Regions from separate parts of the Homo sapiens genome. Here region 1 is linked to region 2. Evidence: promoter capture Hi-C in human tissues and cell types (Jung and others, 2019). All regions are on one chromosome and are shown on one strand. The core of a region is centred on a gene start or on the middle of the fragment in contact, and the rest is flanking DNA. Distances in the headings are between cores, read along the strand shown. Region 1 overlaps CCDC171 (coiled-coil domain containing 171). Region 2 holds the start of SNAPC3 (small nuclear RNA activating complex polypeptide 3).

Evidence for each region. The method cuts DNA at HindIII sites, captures the fragments that hold promoters and counts their contacts. A contact is called where the count stands out against the background at its distance.
Region 1: a fragment that was not itself captured here is called in contact with the fragment with the promoter of SNAPC3 in region 2 in 1 of the 25 tissues and cell types used here (lymphoblastoid cells).

Annotation. Positions count from the first base shown.
Region 1 is chr9:15,667,200-15,672,669 of GRCh38, reverse strand. The region is part of intron 9 of CCDC171 (coiled-coil domain containing 171); the gene reads right to left. Among named protein-coding and RNA genes, the nearest start is that of CCDC171, 120 kb to the right of the region's middle. The HindIII fragment of the contact is 3,605 bases long and covers 1,166-4,770 here.
Region 2 is chr9:15,420,090-15,424,874 of GRCh38, reverse strand. It overlaps SNAPC3 (small nuclear RNA activating complex polypeptide 3), which reads right to left and starts at 1,999. Exons shown (of 9, transcript NM_001039697.2): 1 at 1,682-1,999; 2 at 889-966. The coding sequence starts at 1,995. RefSeq lists an enhancer at 1,523-1,642 and a silencer at 1,983-2,272. The HindIII fragment of the contact is 4,082 bases long and covers 124-4,205 here.

The sequences.
Region 1 (5,470 bases), core at 1,719-4,218, 250 kb before region 2:
CACACATCTACAACCATCTGATCTTCAACAAACCTGACAAAAACAAGAAACGGGGAAAGGATTCCCTATTTAATAAATGGTGTTCAGAAATTGGCTAGCCATATGCAGAAAGCTGAAACTGGATCCCTTCCTTACACCTTATACAAAAATTAACTCAAGATGGATTAAAGACTTAAATGTAAGACCTAAAACCATAAAAACCCTAGAAGAAAACCTATGCAAAACCATTCAGGACATAGGCATGAGCAAAGACTTCATGACTAAAACACCAAAAGCAATGGCAACAAAAGTCAAAATGGACAAAATGGGATTGAATTAAACTAAAGAGCTTCTGCACAGCAAAAGAAAGTATCATCAGAGTAAACAGGCAACTTACAGAATGGGAGAAAATTTTTGCAATTTATCCATCTGACAAAGGGCTAATATCCAGAATCTACAAAGAACTTAAACAAATTTACAAGAAAAAAACAAACAACCCCATCAAAAAGTGGGCAAAGGATATGAACAGACACTACTCAAAAGAAGATATTTATGCAGCCAACAGACATATGAAAAAACGCTCATGATCACTGGTCATCAGAGAAATGCAAATCAAAACCACAATGAGATACCATCTCACACCAGTTAGAATGGCGATCATTAAAAAGTCAGGAAACAACAGGTGCTGGAGAGGATGTGGAGAAATAGGAATGCTTTGACACTGTTGGGAGTGTAAATTAGTTCAACCATTGTGGAAGACAGTGTGGCAATTCCTCAAGGATCTAGAACTAGAAATACCACTTGACGCAGCGATCCCATTACTGGGTATATACCCAAAGGATTATAAATCATGCTGCTATAAAGACACATGCACATGTATGTTTATTGCGGCACTATTCACAAAGACTTGGAACCAACTCAAATGTCCATCAATGATAGACTGGGTTAAGAAAATGTGGCACATATACACTATGGAATACTATACAGCCATAAAAAAGGATGAGCTCACGTCCTTTGCAGCGACATGGATGAAGCTGGAAACCATCATTCTGAGCAAACTATCACAAGGACAGAAAACCAAACACTGCATGTTGTCACTCATAGGTGGGAATTGAACAATGACAACACATGTACACAGGGCAGGGAACATCACACACTGGGGCCTGGCAGGGGGTGGGGGGCTGGGGGAGGGATAGCATTAGGAGAAAGACCTAATGTGAAGACCTAATGTAAGCGAGTTGATGGATGCAGCAAACCAACGTGGCACATGTATACCTATGTAACAAACCTGCACGTTGTATACATGTATCCTAGAACTTAAGGCCAAAAAATAAAGATAAAAATAAATTTAAAAAAAAAACTTTTCCAGACTGGAAAAAGTAGACAGAAGAGTCCAGGAGGAACATCTCTTAGAAGAAATTTAAAATGATAGCGTCTCTGAGGTGTAGGAACATGAGAGACTTTCGGTTCTGTTAGTGTTTACAAATAATTTAATAAGTGATTGGTTAATCACATGAACTAATACAGTTTAAAATGAGGCAATTATTAACTATTCTCATCTGTTGATTCTGCAAGTATTTTCTGTTTTGTTTTGGTTTTTAGACAGCGTCTCACTTGGTCGCCCACACTGAAGTACAGTGGCATGATCATAGCTCACTGCAGCCTCGAACTACTCAGCATAAGCAATCCTTATACCTCAGCCTCCCAAGTAGCTGGGACTACAAACATGCGCCACCAAAAGCAATCCTCCCCCACCTCGGCCTCCAGCAATCCTCCCACCAGAGCCTCCCAAAGTGCTGGGATTACAGGTATAAGCCACCACATCCAGCCCAATTCCATAAATCTTTATTTAGCAGCTCTTATGTACCTTTCTAGGCACTGACAAGACAGCAATAAACAAAACAAAGTTTCTTGTTACATAAGACAGACAATAAATAACAAAGAACACAATAAAATGTGCTATAAAAAAAGATGGGTTAACAAAAATTAAACTGTAGAAAAAATAAAGTATGCTGAACCCAAAAATATAACTCTATGGAAAGGATGGGAAGAGGGAAGGAGTGTCTGTGGTGTGGGAGAAGCATATAATAGAGATATATAAGTAGAAGCCAATAGATATTTAAAGGTAGAAACTGAAAAAAATGGCATACTATGCCTGTTATTTAGAAATATGAAATCAAATATCAGAAGAACCAGCAATAAGATTTGAAAGTAGATGCATCAAAGGAGTAGAAACTGATAGTAGAGAGCAATGGGGCATGAAACTGCTGTTTTTCATGAGCCTAACAGTACCATTTTATTCATTAGACTGTGTACATGTATTAATTTGATAAAATCAAGATTTTAGTTAAAAACTGCTGTTACTCAAAAAATAGATAATTAAGTGCATCTGTCATTACACACACAATACACACACAGCTTTTTTTTTGGTACTATTTTATAAATAAAGGCCAAACTGTGTCCACTGAAATGGGGGAACACACCTTGCTGTTGAGCATTCTGGCGGACAAAAAAGCTGGCTCCTACCATGCTGCTAAACTCCCAACCAAGAAGGAGTAAGTGGAGCAAGAGTAGGGCAGGTTAAGGAGATGCCTTGTCTCTGAATTCTGATGGGAAAGGGCCAGGACTTAAAAGGTGGAGGATTTAGGCAAGAAAGGGAAGAGAGGAGAAGTAAGTTTGTAGCTAGGATCCCTTCTTTCCTACTGGAGTCCCATTCTTTTTTTTTTTTTTTTTTTTTTAAGACTTCAGCTAAGAATTTGACAATAACAGGGTATTTTAACAAATAGCCATCTTTGGACTATGTTTTACATATAATGTAAACAAAAATAATGCTACTAAGTTACAATACCGTTGATATGTTTATCCTTTTGGGTGATATATTTAGAAAAATAAATTCCTAAATATTGAGTCTAAGAAATAAATTTAGATGCAGTCCATTCAGCATGATATATTTGACTAATGATGTTTCAAATTAAATTTATGTTTCAACTATACCTAAGGATTACTATGATCTCTTTCTCCCTACTATTGCCCAGCAATCAGTTGTCACAGCTAATGAAGACTTTACTATATTTGAAAATTCAGATGGTTAATGGGTACAAAAATACAGTTAGATGGAAGGAACAGGATCTAGTGTTTGGTGGCACAACAGGGCAACTATAGTTAACAATAATCTATCACATATTTCAAAATAACTAAAAAAGTGGAATTGGAATGTTCCTAACATAAATAAATGATAAATGCCTGAGTTAATGGATAGCCCAATTACCCTGATTTGATCATCACACATTGTATGCTTGTATAAAAATATCACACATACCCCATAAATATGTACAACTATTATTTACCCATAATTAAAAATAAAAAATGTTTAAAAAGAAAACAAAAGATTATTGAAAAGCTTTGGTTTCATACTGCAAGTTTTAGATGGAAAAAAATTTATTCTAAGAAATTTTGATTATAGAATTATGGAATATATACATTCCATCTAAAATAATTTCATGTAGGAATGTCTACTGTTATGAAACTATGGACCAAAACTATAACTCTGCAATATACACACAGCTTTTTTTCTCCTGCCTTTAGTGAGATCCTGCCGAGGTCTGCCTGGCAAGAAACAGAAGCTTAAAGAACCTTAACCAATGGCAGGTTCAAGCATGATAAACTGCTACGTCAGTTCACAACAGGTAAAACAATATACTGCTCCAAAACTCCACATTCTCAAAGTTGTAAGTTAAAGGTATTATTTACCTTAAAGACCTAAAATCTATCAATTCTCTATTTGGAATACATTAACCAAAACTTAGAACTACTTTGAAACAACAGAATTTTTTTCAGAAATTCAGAATCTTCTTTAAAAAATATTTAAAAAATTCAGAATCATCTTTAAAAAAGGTTTTTTAAAGATGATTCTGAAGTATGGTCAGAAGTACAGGCAGAAAATGGAAAATGGAAGTACAGGTAGATCCCTCAAGTCACATCATTCCTTCTTATACTACAGATAGTAGGGATGGAAGTGGCTTTCATTTCACATACACGGAAAAGGAAGATGGGATGGAAAAGGAAAGTCACAGAAATTTTCAGTGATTATTGGGTTTAGTTATTACTTGTCATTATTTATTTATTATTATTTAACTTGTATTATTATGACAGTTATATACAGATGAAGAAGATATAAGGGACATTATGTTAAAGCATTAGGAGTGTTAGTTAGCTAGTGCCTAGTTGGAATATGTAACTAATGTTTAGAATTGTCAGTTGGTGCTTACTGGAATACTAAATTTGAGTAAAAATTTTCAAGTACCAAAATACAAATAACAGCAAAACAAAACTTAAGGAAAAAAACTGCTTTGGGGTCCAATTAGGAAAGTATATAGGTTAGACTCAGAGCTTAAGTGTTAGCAAGTAGGTTAAAATTCCTCCAGTCCAATCTTTATAAGACTCTCTTCTTCAACATCCATGACAGAGAATCATCCACTCTGTGTTTTGAATTTCCCAAGGCAGGGAACTCACTAGTTCCCTGAAAGATGTCTATTATTTCATTGCTAGAAAGCTTTAATTATTGGGAGCTCATTCTGACTTCTTACAGTTTTACTTGTAGGTCCTAATCATTACCTTAAAGCAAAAGTAAAGAAATCTGCACTATATTCTACATAAAAGCCTTTCAAATAGATTTATATGCAGAATAATATTTGAATACATATTTGAATAATATTTGAATACATTCAAATGTATTAAATGTATGCATTCAAGCAATGGTTCAAAGAACATAAAGGATAAATAAGTCCTTAGAATAACATTCACAGAATGTCATTTAAGTCATACTAGAGGGAAGCAAGGAAATTCAGTTAAGAATTATTGGTTTAAAATATTATAAGCATTATTAATTAAAGAAACAAACAGTTTAAGAGTTTTTAATGTTTTCAGTCTTTCAGGTGCAATCTTCGTGATTTTTGTCACACTCACAAAAATTACCGCTATTTAAATCACACTTTCACTTAAGTTAACTCACTTCTTATAATAAATGAAGCTTTTCTCTTTTTTTTGAGATGCAGTCTCCCTCTGTTGCCCAGGCTGGAGTGCAATGGCGCGATCTCAGCTCACTGCAACCTCTGCCTCCCGGGTTCAGGTGATTCTTCTGCCTCAGCCTCCCAGGTAGGTGGGATTACAGGTGCCCGCCACCACACCTGGCTAATTTTTTTATTTTTAGTAGAGACAGGGTTTCACCATGTTAGCCAGGCTGGTCTCGAACTCCTGAACTCAGGTGATCTACCCGCGTCAGCCTCCCAAAGTGCTGGGATTACAGGTGTAAGCCACCGTGCCCAGCCAATAAAGCATTTTAAAAGGGATCTTTATATTGTGGCTATAAATGGAAAACCATTATCTACTTGCCATAAATAGAAACTAAGATTAAAATATAATTCTAATATGCCAATGTATTATCATGCCACATACTAATGGTAGTATGAATTTCACCCTCTGGGGGGGGAAA
Region 2 (4,785 bases), core at 750-3,249:
TTATGAAAGAAAACCCAAGTAGAGTTGAAATGACTGCCTGAATATTTGAGGGGGATAATAGCGTAGGATCAAGAACGACAGAACATAGCTGAGGTAGTATGAAATAAGTGGACTATAAATTGGAAATTATAAATTTCACTATTACATGCACAATTTCTCTATATTATCATACAACAGTGCCTCTCAAAGAGTGGTAGGCAGACCAGAATTCATCTATGACCTATTTGTTAACCAATCTGTACAGAAAATGACAGTAAGCATTTAGAAACTTCCATTATCATTGAATAATTTTGTCTATTGAATTTAATTAAAAATTTGAACTTATATTGTGTTTGTCTTTTTTAATTCCATTTTTCTAGTAATTCTTTTTATAGTATTTTATCAAAGCATAAATCTGTCAAAGATTAAAAATTTTTAAAAACAAGAACTGTCCTTTACCACAAATAGTTTGAAAAACACTGTCAGAGTATTTAGGTTGCCCCCCAGATCTAAGTAGATTACCTCTATAAACAAACATTCAAAAATATTAAAAAATAAACACAAGTTTGAATATGGACTGAATATTATAGATTATGTATTTACGGTTTTCTTAGGTATAATAATACCACAATAATTATGTAGGAGAATGATACTTTTAGAAGCTATATGCTTATGTATTTACGGGTAAATTATCATGTCTAACTTACTGAATGGGGGATAGCAAAATGAAAAAACACACAGCAGGCATCCCATACACACGGCTAAAGTAAATATGGTCAAATATTAAGAACAGCTGAATTTAAGGGGTGGGTATACAGACAACAATCAATACTGCACTTTCAACTTTTCAAAACATAATGTTGAAAAAATGTTTAAATAAATAGGTCATAAAAACCAAGTCCTCCATACCCCAAAGTCACCAGGTCAGTATTCTCCGGAATGACTTCTGGATCCTCACCGTCCTCAAGGCATTTCAGTTTATCAAGGCTAAAACAAAAAGGAAAAGCAATACTTTAAGGTCGACTCTGCATCTGGTTCACAGCGAGTTAGGGTTGTTTTCCTAAATACATTACTGAATTACGAAGTCAGATAAAATCCAGCAGGCGGCTCAGAGAGGCCAGAACTTAAGACAACGATTTCTGTGATTATATTTTATAATGAAAAGGCCGATGAAGGCAGCCAGTACTGTTAAATGGAGAAAGAGATTAAAGTTATTTTTATATTTTCATCCCCAAATAAGGCACTTTTAAGAAATATTTCAGTAACAGAATACCCGGAAGGTCCCCAAAAGAAACCAGTTAGTCGGGGTTTTAACACTCCTCTGATGAAGTCTCCCGCAGCTTCACCATTACTCAGGTTCCTCCATTGTCAAAGTGTCTGTCAATGGCAGGTACACGTCGCTGTTGCCCTGATTGCTTTTCTTTATTAACAAGCACTCTTAGAATAAGCAAATGGAAAAACTAGTCTTTGATGCAGCTGTCTTGTCCCTTTGCTCCAACTCGTAGAAACTGTGCATTCGGGTCCCAGGACTTCTCCTGGTGTCCCAGGAAGGCTCCAGCGGGTTGAAAGCTTTAAAGGGTAATACTCCTAGCCCAGGTCTAAACCACAGGCCCTTCTCAGGGATGAGTCCCAGAGGAGCGCACGAGCAAGGCTGCACCCTGTTTGACCCCAAGCTGCAAGAGCCCCTTTGCTCCGCACTCACCCGCACACCGCCCTCAGCTCAGCCGCCGCCTCCAGGCTGCAGTCCAGATCCCTGGCCACCGCGGCATCCTCCCGGTCGGAGTCAGCTGCCTGGCTCCCAGGCAGAGCGGATGCCGGCGGCTCCCTCAGCGACAAGTCCCCGGCCCCGCGCAGACGGCCCCGCCACAGCTCCCCAAAGGCGCCCACATGGAAAGCGCGCGTATTTAGCTCGGGAAGCTCATACTCTGGAAAGTTGCAGCCGCCACTGCCGGAGACTGGGTCCTGCCTGCCACCCACCCCGCTACACGTAGGGCCACCTCGGCTTCCTTCAGCCATGTTCGCCCCACTCCTTCCCCTGCAAAAGCCTGCAGATCAAGGCCTCGCAGAGCGTGATGGAAGTTGTAGTTGCTTGGGGCGCCCGGCCGGCGAGCGGCGAGGCGGCGCGGGCAGGGCATCAGAAACTACATTTCCCGGCAGGCCATGGGCAGGCCCGCCCCAGGGCGCGGCACCGCGAGGCTCTACGTGCAGGGCGCAGCATTGTTCTCCGACCCGGGCGGTGCGGGAACCGTTGCGGCTGTCGGTTAACCGCAGCGGGTGGGGCTGGGTTTCTGGTCCCCGAGTTACGTAGCAACTGTCTCTGCCCGGTAGGGCGGCCTCGCCAGGCGCTTAGGCCCCGTTCCTTGCGGCTTTCGGACTAAGGGGTGCAGGGCTTTTTCTTGACTGGGGTTCAAGGACTGCTCTGCTGCCTGATTGCTTTAGAGCCTAAGAAACAAGGAGGGCGAGGGCCGAGACCAGGGACACGACCAGCCCTCCAGATCTGGTTCTTTCACAAGCTCCGCAGAGGCCCCATGTTGGTGTGCGTGTGCAGTAGTGTTTCAGAGCGTCTGTGTATCACACGCTACATGATTAACCCTAATGTATGTTTTTAATGTTTTTAAAAATTACAACAACCTTTCCGGATAGGGCGTATCACCCCGTGTTGCTGTTGAGGAAGGATTTACCTGCGGGGAAAATAGAAGCAGGATCGGAACTCAGTCTGGCTTCAGATGGAGCTCTCTCCATTTCTCAGAGGCCCTGAAGGATACAGCAGGACATACTATTTATTTATTAGACTGTAATCACATGCCATATAATTCACCCATTTGAAGTGTTCAGTGATTTTTGGTATATTCACAGGCTTGGGCAACCATCACCACTATTTGAGAGCATTTTTACCACTCGAAAGAAGAAACTTGTACTTTTTAGCTATCACCCCTGATCCTCCCAACTCCTCCAGCCCTAGCCAACCAAGAACCTACTTTGTCTCTCTAGATTTAACTAATCTGGACATTTAATATAAACGGAATTATATGGTCTTTTGGTGGCTGGCTTAATGTTTACAAGGTTTGTTACAGGTAGTTAGGCATGAGCAGGGCAGGAGAGGGCTCTTCCCTCACCCACTAGGAATGTGGGGTGATGCTTAGGCATTTATCACATTGCCTCTAAAAGTGATAAATTGGCAGCCGGTGCCAGGGAGAGGCCATTTCCTGATGGCCCACACCTGTTGCACTAAAGTGCTCGTTGAATGCAGGTGACAGGGAGAAGCAACTTCCTGGGCATATGCATTAAGAGACAAAATCGGGGAGTATGACCTTTCAGGGGGACTCTATCGGAAAAGGGAAGAAAGCCTCAGATGGGCACGCATACAACTTCATACATATTGCGCTGTGCTCACTTCCCAAGGGTAAGGAGGGCACTGCGCATGGAGGCAGCCCACCCTAAGGGAAGAATCATGGGAAAGGAGCCAGCCTGTAAAGTCCTAGGATCGAGGTCAATATCACAGTTGACCTCAGTGACAGCTTGGGACTCTTCCGAGCGTGCTTTCCTTTCTTTCCTAAAGGCCTTTTAAATAAGCTTCCACTCCTGCTCTGAAACTTGCCTCAGTCTCTTTTTGTGCCTTATTGCCCCTCGGTCAAATTCTTTCTTCTGAGGAGGCAAGAACTGAAGTTGCTGCAGACCCATACAGATTTGCCCTGGTAACTTGGATACCTGCCACCTGTAACACGTTCATCCATTTTGTAGTATGTGTCAGTACTTCATTCCTTTTTTGGCTGAATAATATTGCATTGTATGTATATGCCACATTTTATTTATCAAAAAGTTTTTACCTTTTGGCGTTGCTATGAACATTCATGTACACATTTTTGTGCAAATACGTTTTCATTTCTCTTGGGCATGTGCCCAGTAGTATACAGTCAGCCCTCCCTATCTGTGGGTTCTGCATCCTCCAATTCAACCAACCACATATCAAAAATTACAGTATTCCCAGGTTGCAGAACCTGAGGATAAGAGGAATTTTCCTATGGGCGGATTCCACAGGGCTGACTGCAAGAAGAGCATCTGTCAATTTTGGAGTCCACAGGGGTCTTCGAAACAGTCCACCCTGCAGATACCAAGGGATTTCTGTATTTATGGAACTCTATTTTCAACTATTTGAGGAACTGCCAGATTTTTTTAAAGTGGCTGTCCCATTTTACTCCCCTCCCCAGCAGGATTCTCCACATCCTTGCCAACACTTATCTGAACTTTTTATTATAACCGTGTCAGTGAGTGTGAAATGGTGTTTCATGACTTTTTATTTGCATCTCCCTAATTATATTGATGGAACACGTTTTCATGTGCTTATTGACCATTTGCATATTTCTTTGGGGAAATGTATATTCAAGTTCTTTACCAATTTTTAAATAAAGTTATTGTGTTTCCATAGGAGCTCTGGTTTTTTTTTTCTTTCTTTTTTTTTTTTTTTTTTTTTGTTTTGAGACAGAGTTTCCCTCTTATTGCCCAGGCTGGAGTGCAATGGTGCGATCTTGGCTCACCGCAACCTCTACCTCCTGGGTTGGAGCGATTCTCCTGTCTCACCCTCCTGAGTAGCTGGGATTACAGGTGCATTCCACCACACCTGACTAATTTTTTTGTATTTTTAGTAGAGATGGGATTTCATCATATTGGTCAGGCTGGTCTAGAACTCCTGACCTCAGGTGATCCGCCCACCTCTGCCTCCCAAAGTGCTGGGATTACAGGCGTGAGCCACTGCGCCCGGCCTTCTGGTTGTTTTGTTGTTGTTTGTTTGTTTGAGATAGTGTCTTG